Regions from separate parts of the Homo sapiens genome. Here all the other regions are linked to region 2. The links are contacts of gene promoters, found by promoter capture Hi-C in human tissues and cell types (Jung and others, 2019). All regions are on one chromosome and are shown on one strand. Each heading gives the region's core, a stretch centred on a gene start or on the middle of the fragment in contact. The rest is flanking DNA. Distances are from core to core; before and after follow the strand shown. Region 1 overlaps WDR26 (WD repeat domain 26). Region 2 holds the start of FBXO28 (F-box protein 28). Region 3 holds the start of WDR26 (WD repeat domain 26).

Evidence for each region. Contacts are between HindIII fragments. The study calls those that stand out against the background at their distance.
Region 1: a fragment that was not itself captured here is called in contact with the fragment with the promoter of FBXO28 in region 2 in 2 of the 25 tissues and cell types used here (heart right ventricle and mesenchymal stem cells).
Region 3: the fragment with the promoter of WDR26 here is called in contact with the fragment with the promoter of FBXO28 in region 2 in 1 of the 25 tissues and cell types used here (spleen).

What each region holds. Positions count from the first base shown.
Region 1 is chr1:224,384,993-224,389,105 of GRCh38, forward strand. It overlaps WDR26 (WD repeat domain 26), which reads right to left. Exons shown (of 14, transcript NM_001379403.1): 14 at 154-4,113. Among named protein-coding and RNA genes, the nearest start is that of MIR4742, 11 kb to the right of the region's middle. The HindIII fragment of the contact is 3,580 bases long and covers 1-3,363 here.
Region 2 is chr1:224,111,521-224,115,405 of GRCh38, forward strand. FBXO28 (F-box protein 28) reads left to right here and starts at 2,591. Exons shown (of 5, transcript NM_015176.4): 1 at 2,591-2,876. The coding sequence starts at 2,610. LOC105373056 (a long non-coding RNA gene) reads right to left here and starts at 2,520. Exons shown (of 3, transcript XR_007066897.1): 1 at 2,415-2,520; 2 at 1-9. RefSeq lists enhancers at 2,234-2,363, 2,384-2,443, 2,584-2,653. The HindIII fragment of the contact is 33,635 bases long and covers 1-3,885 here.
Region 3 is chr1:224,433,358-224,437,239 of GRCh38, forward strand. WDR26 (WD repeat domain 26) reads right to left here and starts at 1,440. Exons shown (of 14, transcript NM_001379403.1): 1 at 327-1,440. The coding sequence starts at 1,048. It also overlaps a transcript of CNIH3 not described here. RefSeq lists a silencer at 1,419-1,818 and an enhancer at 2,159-2,348. The HindIII fragment of the contact is 17,142 bases long and covers 1-3,882 here.

The DNA.
Region 1 (4,113 bases), core at 324-2,823, 270 kb after region 2:
ATATTTTGAGCCCAGCAGTTCAAGTCCAGTCTGGGCAACACAGTGAGACTCTCTCTAAAATACATAAAAAATCAGCAAATGTTTTAGGCAAAAAGAGTACTACTTAAACATTCAGATTAATGGATATTAGGAGATGTAACACACCAAGAATTATTTAGGTATTCATTCTGTTTATTGGATTGAAAGAAAGGGAATACAAACGACTGGTTAAGTGCTGCGCACTGACATGGAAAAAGTGTCTTTAAAAAAAAATCCCAGTAAAGCAAATCAAAGTTAATGTAGTTTCAGTTGAACAAAAATTTAAAGACGTTTAATACATTACACATTTATAAAATAAAAGTCAACAAAGGGTGTTTTGTAAATAATTAGTAAACAAGTGAAAATAAATATCAGAGACCTGAAGTTTTTATACTTTAATGAATAAAGCAAAGAAATTTAAACTAAGTAAATATAATCTGAGAGGCAGTTAAAAAAACAAAAATCAAAACCCACCAAAATTGAAGAACACAATCTTTTGAAACATTTAATCAGTCCATAGCAAATAGTTATTACATACCAAAAGCTCTAAGTGTTAACTAGTTCCACCACAATGCCATGTAAATCTTGACAATTTAGAAATCTTGAGATCAACACTTAAGTTCTTTTCTTGATCTCTACAGCTTGGTTTGTAAGTACATACATGCTTTTGTGGATCTATTCCCCTCGCCACACACACACATTTTCAAGGAGCCAATAACATTTTTTTCCATCTGTGCCTAAAAATGTTACAATTCAGTTCTAGCACATTGACCCTGATAATGAAAATGTTTAAGTTAAAGATGGGGACACAATTTCAATCTTATAAAAATATACCAGTATTAACCAAACCTTAAACTCAGAGGGCACTTCACATGTGCACGAGACTTTCAGTAAAAATGACAAGATCCTAGAACAGCTGTTTCCAGGACTTTTTAATGAATCAAGTACTCTCTCTCTCACACACACACAGAACACACACACACATTTTTATACTATTGGTTTTGTTAAATCCAGGCTATCTGGATTAAGTAGATAGGGGATGGGTTTTTATAGTTTTTATTTTTGTAACTATAGGGCAGCTACTATAACAATAGCTTAACAACACTGAAAAATTTCAATTAAGTTCACCCTGTTTTTAGAAAGTGTCTAAGTGTAAATGCAAATTCACCTCTTCTTAAGTTAGCAGTTTATATTAAATCAGATATGGTTTCTGAAATGGAAGTAATGTGTTGGAGGGCAACCCAAAAGGACAGTTGCGAAATTATGAATGAGAAATTAAAGTAAAACCAAATCAAAATATTTATACATTTTAGAGATGGGACAAAAAGGATATTAAGAAAAATGTCTTCTTTCCTCCCCATTCAAAAGCAGCCATTCTTCTACTGTGAAAGAAACTGACATGGATATTTTCCCTTTCAAGAGATGTATGATATATTTACCCACTGTGAGGCAGAGGTGATAGGGTCAGTTCTTGTTTGCAGGAACCAACATCCTAAAAAAGAAAATGTCAAGATGGGGAGGGGTGGGAAAGAAGGGTTTTCTATTAATGTCATGGAATATGCCACTGTAGAGGCAGAACACTCCTAATAATAACATTCACCAGATTACTACTGCTGTTTTTTTCAGACTAAGAAAATACTGACAAAATTGGATTTTTTTCTCCTTTCAATTGCAGGATATTCTGATTATTTAAAGTTAGGGAATCCCTTTTTTATCCCCCCACCCAATAAAATGGGCCAATTTGTAGGGATATATGCAAATAAAATGTTCTCTGTTTAAAATACTTACCTGGTTTAATATAACACATTTATCTGGCCAATAAGAGCAACAGAAATGTAGCTGTTATGAAGACTAAAAAAATACAAAAACCAAAGCTGAAGCTTTGTCATCCCTCCCCACTAACTCCCACTCCAATTCTTTACTACCCACATACTAATCTCAGTAATCCCCAAGTCCAACATTTTACCATTAATAACCAATTATTTGGAGGAAAAAGACATTTAATTTTATATTTGCTCTAGCCCTTAATCAATGCATAACAACAAAAACATTTTTAAGCACATGGAAATGAGCCTACTAACCTGATTTTTGGAGCCCAAATTCTCCACTCTATTTTGATCTATGTGCAAAAAGTATTGGTACTTTTCAATTTATACATTTGTTAGTATCTTGTGGCTGGCTTCATAGTATAAGACTCACTCTTAAGCCTACTATAGAGCCTACAGCACTATCAGAAGTTTTCAATTAATAGCTATGGATCAGAAAATCCTGCGATCAGTTTCTCATACCATAAAATCCTAGGCTTCTTTACCATTGATTTCACCTTTCGAGCACAGTCACTGCATGGCAAATGTATGAAACAGACGTTTACAGCAAATAAGTACCAGTATGTACAGGAAGCTGCCAGTTAAGACAGACCCGGAAAACAAACTCACCTAGCTGCTATAGAAACCTTTGCATAGTTGTTACTCCGTTTTAATAGGAGTTATGTTCTTGTAAAATGTGCCTCACTTTTACTCCACTTTTTAAAAAGTGTTTTTAAACTGTACTTCAGAAGCACTCTGAAAACTCAGATCTAGGGGTGGTTAGGTGAAGTAGAGTAGAATCTGAGTGCCAAATTGCCCCTGAATGGGCACAAATCTGAGTGTTACAAATGCACCGTAGCACACTGTAACCAAATTTGTAAACAGCTGTGGAGTTTCTATGCCCACATTTAGTGATGTTACCATAGAGACTGGGGTGTATTAACGGCTTCAGGGTATACATGAATCACTTAAAATATGAATGGTTTTTAACTATACTGAGGTAAAGAGAAGTTGCCACTTAATTACATACAGTTACCAATGAAGATTTTTATTCAAGCTTAAAGTAAAAAGTAATTTTAGTTAAGAAAAATGAAGTACCAGATAAACTGTAACATATATTTTAACTTAGAAGTATCAAAACAGGAATTTTTTGATTCTCTAAGTGGTGGTCTCTGCAAAATGGAGCTTGAAGAAATCTTTTACATACCAATTTGATAAGAGTCTGCTGACCACGATCTGTCATTTTCTTTACTATGGGCTTCTGGGAGAATGCATGCTATTTTAAGGCCAAATGTGTTTTTCTTTCTTCTCCCCTTCCCTGACTTTTCCCTTTCTCCCATCCCCGACCACCTACCCCACAATGGAAGAATTTTTGACATCCAAGCCCTCTTCTCTTTGTGGATTCTGGAGTCTATTCATGATCATAATTATATTATAGACTTGGCTACACCTAAAGGGGAACTTAGTACAAGACTTTTTCTTCACCAGAATCTTATTTTGGGGGTATCCCCATTCTCATTCCAACAGCTGGAGTCACCCTATTTATCCTCTACTGAAAAAGGGAGGGAATTTCAAGGGAGACTATGTTATGTTGTATTCAGCTGTTACGGAGTTTAAAAGCACAATGTGAACATCAGGCTTTTGGCTTATTTTAAATGTGAAATTCTCAAAATTAAAAGTGCTTTTCCATGAAGGAAACCTTTCCTTAAACTAAAACAGGAGGGGAGAGGGAAAGACTATCCACAGCACCAGTTTAGAATGAGGTTCAGTATGGCAATATCTGAAAAAACTGAGAAAAAATATTCTTTAAATTTATGTATCCCTATATGTCAAAATATTAAGGGCAATTAAGAAAAATGACTATGAGGTTTTAATCCCAGTTTAAGTATGTCTGTAACCTGCTGAATTCTTCTAATAATTTCAATTATACTATAAACTTCCAAAGTGGTTGTATCGCTGATTCCTACTCTTTTGCTAGATCACACCAAAATTACTTCCTAAGTTGAGAACAACTTGGAACAAGCTTTACTGAAAACCAACTGACTACTGATGTCTCATGTTGGTGTATTTAAAATTCTTTTTGAATCTTGAATTTCTTCAAGATCGGGTACTGATGTTCCTTCAGGAATAAAACAAAAGGGGGGAAATCTTCAAAGCATTACTCTGAATTTCTTGTGTAATGTCCTTCCAAGCACTGTTTCTGACCATGTCTCATGTGGTATTCCAGAAGAGCATCAGTTATACTGTGTATCTAAGTCATTGAGGAAACTGTTTTTAAGCTGGTTTAGAT
Region 2 (3,885 bases), core at 1,341-3,840:
CCACCATAGCTGCAGGAGAAGAAGAGAGATGGGGAAACAGCAGCCAGTCAGAACACCTACATGTATTGATTAAATTTGCCGTCTTATATGGGTATGATTGGTGGCACCTCAAAACAATTACAATAGTAACATAAAGATTACTGATCTGCCAGGCATGGTGGCTCACTCTCGTAATCTCAACACTTTGGGAGGCCAAAGCAGGCAGACTGCTTGAGCACAAGAGTTCAAGGCCAGCCTGGGCAACGTGGCAAAACCCTGTTTCTACAAAAAAAAATCAAAAATTATCCAGGTGTGGTGGCACACACCTGTAGTCCCAGCTACTCAGGAGGCCAAGGTTGGGGGATTGCTTGAACCCAGGCGGTGGAGGCTACAGTGAGCCATCATCCTGTCATTGCACTCCAGTCTGGGCAACAGAGCAAGATGCTGCCTCAATAAACAAAAAAAATTACTGATCACAGCTCACCATAACAGATATAACAATAATAAAAAGTTTTAAATATCAGAGGAATTATCAAAATGTGACAGAAAGAAACAAGGTGAACACATGCTGTTGGAAAAATGGCACCAAGAGACTTGCTCAAGGGTTGCCACAAACCTTCAATTCATTTTTAAAAACGCAATATCTGAGAAGCACAAGAAAGCAAAGTGTAAAATACAAAGCATGCGGCCGGGCGCCATTGCTGCCTGTAATCCCAGCACTTTGGGAGGCTGAGGTGGGTGGATCACAAGGTCAGGAGTTCGAGAGCAGCCTGGCCAAGATGGTGAAATCCCGTCTCTACTAAAAATACAAAAATTAGCCAGACGTGATGGTGGGCGCCTGTAATCCCAGCTACTCAGGAGGCTGAGGCAGGAGAATTGCTCGAACCAGCTGACATCGCACCACTGCACTCTAGCCTGGGTGACAGAGCAAGACTCCATCTCAAAAAAATAAATAAATAAATAAAGGAAAATAATAGAAGCATGCTTATCCTTCAATGTGTATTTCCTAAAGACAAAGACATTGTCTTATATGACCATAATACAATTACCCAAATCGAAAAATTTAATATGATTACAGTATAATCTAATATACTGTCCATTTTTAAATTTTGCCAGTTGTCACAATAACGTTCTTCATAGTTATTTCTTCCTTAATCCAGGATCCCATCCAGGATCACCCATAGATTTAGTTGCCCTGTCTCTTTAGTATCCTTTAATCTGCCACAAACCCTTAGTCTTTGTCTTTTGTAACGTTAACACTTTTGAATAATTTATGGGCCCGTCATCTAGCGATGTCTACCTCAAACGCAACTCGTGCTTTTTTTGCATGAATACTACATTATGCTGCGTCCTTTTCAGGGTATTATATTAATAGGCATATGATATTGGCTCCTCCTATAACTGTGGCGTTAGTCTTGATCATTTGGTTATGATGGTGTCCACCAAATTTCTCTATTGTAAACTTTTTTTTTTTTTCTCGCTCTGTTGCCCAGGCTGGAGTGCAGTGGCAGGCTGACGGTTCGCTGCAGCCTCGAACTCGTGTGGCTCAAGCAATCCTCCCATCTCAGCCTCACGAGTAGCTAGGACCATAGGACCTAGCCACCACATTTGGCTAATTTTTTGTATTTTTTGTAGAGATGGGGTTTCTCCACGTTGCCCAGGCTGGTCTCCAACTTCTGGGCTAAAGTGATTCTCCCGCTTCAGCCTTCCAAAGTGCTGGATTACAGGCGTGAGTCAACACGCCCAGCCTTGTAAACTATTTCTTTTCATCTTTGTAAATAATACATAATTTATGGGGAGTTATTTTGAGACTATGGAAATATCATGTTCCTCATCACGTTTACCTCCTAGTTTTAGTACCTTTTGATGATTCTTGCCTAAATCAGTTATTAGAATACAATTCATATATGATAAAATTCATTAAAGTATATAGTAATTCAGTGGTTTTTGTATATTCATACGGTTGTGTAACCATCACCGCTAATTCCAGAGCATTTTTATCACCCCGAAAATGAAACCCTTCACCCATTAGCACTCATTTCCCCATTTCCCCCAGCCTCTGGCGACCACTAATCTACTTTTTATCTCTATGGATTTGCCTATTTAAGACATCCTATATAAATGCAATCATACAATATGTGGTCCTTTGTGTCTAACTTATTTCACTTAATATGTTCTCACGGTTCATTCATGTTGTAGTTCTTATTGATATTTCATACCTTTTTATTTGCCTAAATCAATCATTTCTATGATTCCTAAAAAATGGTGCTAGTCTAACTACATTATTTCCATCTACACTTACTAGGCAACATCTTTATCATCCATTGTCAGGAAGCCCTTTAAGAAAACTGCACAGTGAAGTTCATTTTAATAAATAGGGTTTCCTTGCTCTCAAGTAGTTACTAATCTTAGACAAAAGGGTCTAGGATGACCACCTTTCTTGAGGTTTACATGATCTTCCCTGACTTCCACTTGAAAGGCACCCTGTGAGTCTCTCTCCGCCTGTTATCCCACAGGCTCCTCCCCACTCCTCCAGGTACCCCTTCCCCGGCGGCTGCAGGAGGAGGAAGTGACGCACCGGAAGTGTCCCTGTTCCCCTTGCTGTGGGGGTAAGGAATCAAGCCCCCAAGATGGCGGCAGCGGCGGAGGAGCGGATGGCAGAGGAAGGAGGCGGCGGCCAAGGCGACGGCGGTTCCTCTTTGGCCTCCGGCTCTACCCAGCGACAGCCTCCACCGCCCGCGCCACAGCACCCGCAGCCGGGGTCCCAGGCGCTCCCAGCCCCCGCGCTGGCTCCGGACCAGCTGCCTCAAAACAACACGCTTGTGGCGCTGCCCATCGTAGCCATCGAGAACATCCTCAGCTTTATGTCCTACGACGAAATTAGCCAGCTCCGCCTGGTGAGGCCCCCGCAGAACTCCTGCCTCCCTCTCCCCCCGGCCGAGGTCTGGGAGATGAGAAGGGAGCGCGTTCCCCGGGAAGGGAGCCCCCCGCGAGCCCCAGCCGGCTACAGATCTGGGAGGGAGCCGCTCCCGTCCCGAACTCTCCCTTGGCGTCAGTCAGCAGGAGTGGGCTGGTTCCCGATTGCGTCCTAGCTGCGGAGCTGGGGTTACTTCCTGAGGGGACTTCGCCTTGGGGGCTCCTTGCCCCCCGCCCGGAAGCGGGCCCTCTACGGGAGGGGTAGCGGAGTTGGTCTTCCCACCTTCCGCCTGGCCCGAGAGTAGACCCGGAGAGGTCATGTCGCCTGCCTTTTGTATGCCGCTTCCAGCCCCCGGCCTGGGTTTGGGGAGAAAACTCAGAAGTAGGCAGATGATCCCAGCCAGGTTTGGTTTATCTTGCAAGAATAACGAATTGTTCCCCACCCCAACCACCCAAGTTTTCTTGTTCGAGAAGATTGAGTAGACTAAGGTGGCTCAGTGACCCCAAACCCAGGTAGAGGTTCCGAAGAATTCGAACGTGTTTACTTAGCGTTAGCCCCAGCGCCCTAATTGACCACTAAAGTAGAGCCTTGGGAAATGACCATTCCTGCTTTGCCTCATCCTAACGCTTCCCACCGTAGAGAAGCAACTTACCCCTTGACGGGTTTTTTCTCTTTTGCAATTTATTTTTAACTAGTGATTTACGCCCACCCACCTGCTTTAGGAGAGGTTTCTTTATACCTTAAAATCACAATAGGTCAGTCCATGATTTTTAAAAATAATGAATTTGCCATTGGGGTTTTACTTCACTCCAGAGGTTTGAAGATGTGGTGATTGTTAGTTCAGTTAGATATTTTGCTGCCTTTCAATGAAATTATCTTTAAGTGGTAAAGAAATTGAAGGAGGTGGACATTTTGAAGTGATTGCAAACCGATTCCATGGAGAAGCTAAATCTGTGCTGGGAATTGTTTTTAAGAGGACAAAGATATTT
Region 3 (3,882 bases), core at 190-2,689, 320 kb after region 2:
TTTATTGACAGACAATTAAGCTCTGAAGGTGCGTGGGGAGAAGTCATTCTTTGGGTTTCTCCTAACCCTTCCTAACCCCTCAACGCCTGTCTCGTCTCACAATTTGTCAGACTGATTGATTTTCCCCTATTTCCTTTCAGGTCCGCTCCTCCTCCCCGGTCGCCCTGAGCCGCGTCCTCCTGTGTACTGGGTCCTGCGTGCCCAGCACTCATTCTCTTTGACCGAGCTCTTTCAAGCCCCCCTCCCCCCTCCGCCCCTTCCCCTACCCCCCTGGAGCCTCCGTCCCTCGGTCTGTCCATCACCAGCTGGCGGTAAGGGATACTTACTTGAGCCCTAAGCCATTCAAGTGCTGTCCTATTAGCCTAATGACATCCTCATCTGACTGGGAGAGCCGCTTCTTCTTCTTGAGGCTGCTGCCCAGTTCTGGGGTGGCCAAGGAAGAGGAGGCGGCGGTGGTGGCGGAGGCAGCTGCGACGGTGGCTGAGGATGCGGCGGCCGCCCCGCCGGGAACCCCGTTATTGACATTCAGGCTGTTGCTATTGTTGCTGGCGGCGGAGGGGGCGGAAGGCAGGAGCCCATTGGCGTGGGCCAGGTCCCCCGCGGACGACGACGACGAGGGGGACGACTCCCCGTTCTGGGCCGACAAGCAGGCGAGTTCCGGGGTCTGTCCCTGGCCCCCGCCGCCCCCTCCTCCTCCACCGCCGCCGCCGCCACCTCCTCCTCCTCCTCCTGCCCCATTGGCCTGCATGATGCTGCCGCTGACCAGGCTGTGGCCGCTACTTCGGTGGGGGACAGCAGCGGCGGCGGGAGGGGCAGCAGCCGGGGGAAGTCCCACCACTACCACCACGGAGGAGGAGGAGGAGGAGGAGGACGAGGACGACGAGGACGGAGGGGAGAGGCCTGCTCTGCCTGCCGAAGCCCCGGGCTCTCCTACTCCCTCCGCCGCCGAGGCTCGGGGTTTCTTCCGCGGGGGCGGGGAGGCTCCGCCGGTGTCCGAGTCGGAGGAGGAGGAAGCGGAGGCCAGAGTTTCCTCGCCGAGAGAGGCCGTGGTGGGAAGCCGGTGGGGCGAGGCGGGGGAGGGGAGGCGGGGGCCGGGGAGAGGGTCGGGGTGAGGGGGGCCGGGGAGGCGGGGAGGGGGTCAGGGTAGGAGGGTGAGGGTGAGGGTGAGAGGAGGGGGAGGAGGAGGAGGGGGAGAAGGAGGATCCGGGCCCTTTCCCCCCCCCCTCCCGGAGGCAGCTCGGGGTGCGCGGCCCGGGGGTCGCGCCGGGGGGCGCCGCGGGGCGGCTGCGGGGGCGCGGGGCCCGCCGCTGGGCTGAGCCCCGGCAGTGGCTGCGGCGGCGGCGGCGGCGGGCGGCAGCGGAGGCAGCTGCCGCCTCTGTCCTCGGATCCGCTCCGCTCTGCTCCCTGGTGTGTTGATTCTTCCCCCAGCTGCTGCCTAATGGAGTCCAGGCGCTCGCGTCACAGGAAATGCCTATACTGCCCTCCTCACTCACTTCCGGTGGCAGGTATGGAACCTATAGGGGGCCTGTCACCCAGCACGTGCATCGGGGGCTGTCCCGGGGGTCAGGGGAGGGAGGCCAGCGGGCCGGCGGGGTCCGCCCCGACCCCATCCACGACCCCGACTCCTATCCGATCCTATCCCCGGCCCCGCTCGGGCCTTTCCCCTTGCGCCCTGGCTCGGCTGGCTCGACGAGCAGTAAGTTCGTAGCCGCCCTCCGAAGCCGGGCGTGCATGGGATGGCAGAGTTGGCGTGCGTGCGTGAGTCCACCAGTGTGGCATGGGCATGTAAGGTGCGCGGAGGGACTGCACCTTCTCCATCAGGTGCAGAAGGTGAGGATGGGGCAGGGGGCTAGGAGCTTCGACAGGCAGGAACTTCCAGGCACAGGGCTGTGGTAGGCCCCTCTCAATGGTAACCAGGACCGAAATCGGGTTTCACAACCTACTTGTTTTAGGGTGGAAAAACTTGAATTTCCACAGCCAAGTGCCACACAGTTGCTGTACCCGGGGCCATCCCGGGAGCTGTGAGATAATGAGCCGGTGAGACTCTGCTCCACCCTGGGAAGGGGAGTTAGTCTAGAGGAGCATATCTTATGGGGACAAGAAGTCACAAAAAGGCTGTGTGGTGTGTAGAGAAGGGGAGGGACTCTGCTGTTGAGGCTTCACTCTTTTTTAGCACTTGCCCAGCACCTCCTTCTCTCTTCCAGCTGCCTCTTGAGTCACTGCCCAGTTTAGGGAGCAGTAACATAAACCAAACAGTTGCCTCCAAAATATGCATTCTGAGAAGGATTCAGGCACCCATTCAGATCCAGGCTTGAAATTTTTACGTGGCATGTGAGCCTTCTGTGTCATCATGACTTACCAATTTATGTGAATGTAGAAATGCAGCAACAAAGACTGGGCTGAATCTTAATCATTGGCAAATGGTGTGCATTATCCCCAAACAATTATTTTCATGTATGTGGTTGATAGCATCTATACTCAATATGTATAAAGATTTTCTCAGAAATTTAAAGTCTTTCTCTGAAGTAGTTTTCCTGTGGGGAGGGGAAAAAAAACACCTTAGTTTCTAATTAATACATCATACATCGCTGATATTTATTATAGTAATAACTGAAAGTAATTTTGAGGCCTTTGGAGACAGTTGTTTTTAAATTTGGAAATACAATAAAAAATGATGCTGATGAGAAATTAGTAAAGAATCCTGAGGTTTATGGATCCTCAGACAGGAAGAAGTAAGAGGAAGGTCAATGCAGGATCTTACAGGGATTTGGTTTTGTAGTTCTTACTGCTTAAATTTGCTTCCAGGTGGCAGCTGTAATTGCAAGGTGACTCACATACAGTGTTTATATTCACCTGAGGCCGACCTGAGTTCTAGTTGAGGTTCATAGAGCTCTGTCACTGTATCCAGCAGAGCCTGAATTACTAGATAGTTAACACCCTCAGAGAGCCCTGTTTGTATATTAACTTTAGACAACCTTATTATTAAAAGTGTTGTTTAGGCAAAATTTAATTTTTGCAAAATGGTTTATAATAATTTATTAGGCCCATAGCAACATTGAAGACTTGCTTCTGAATAAAGACTGTAGGTTTTATAAAGGAAATCAGTCACTTCATGGCAGCTACAGACAAAGCTCACACTTCATTAACAAAAGTAAAATGATGAAAAATAAATTGGATTCCATTGCTATCTAAACTCTATATTCCAGTTTTTCTAATTTTTAGGTAACCAACACTGCTCGTGTTAGAATTCTGAATTTATAAAGTCCCTTACAGAACATTTTTCTCTGTACTAAAACACAGCTTGAGAATCTGTTATCTGAACTCTGGGTCTTTAGGTCTTTCTAAAGCCAAGTTTCAGGTCTATGTGCAGATGAACAATTCTGAAATACCACTCTACACACTGAGGAACCTTCAGTAACACCACATTACCTACAGAATAAAATCCAAATTCTGTCTTGCTCACCACAGGTTGCTTTCAGTCTTTCTTTTTGGCTTCATCTCTTATTGCTCCTCTTCAGGGACCTGTCTACTGTCCGCCAAATGTACTGGCTCATTTCTCCTTGAGAGTCTTTGACTACACTCTCCCGTCTTTTCTTCACCTGTCTGATGCCAGTCAGTCTTTCAAGACTCAGCTCATTTCAAACCTCCTCAGGGGAGCCTTTCCTGACTTCCACTCTCCTAGCCGTCATTGTGGGTGTCATTTATTAGGCTCCTCAATCACGAAGGCTGCTTGTGATGTAACTTGCTAAGACCCCTTCTTCAGGTCATCAGAGAGAAGGCTTTCTAGACCTCTGTCCCCCTGATTTACCTTCCCCTTTTCACCCTCCTCCTAAAAAGGACTAAGATGGGTTTAGGAACAAAGGTCCAAGTTATCTTTTAGAA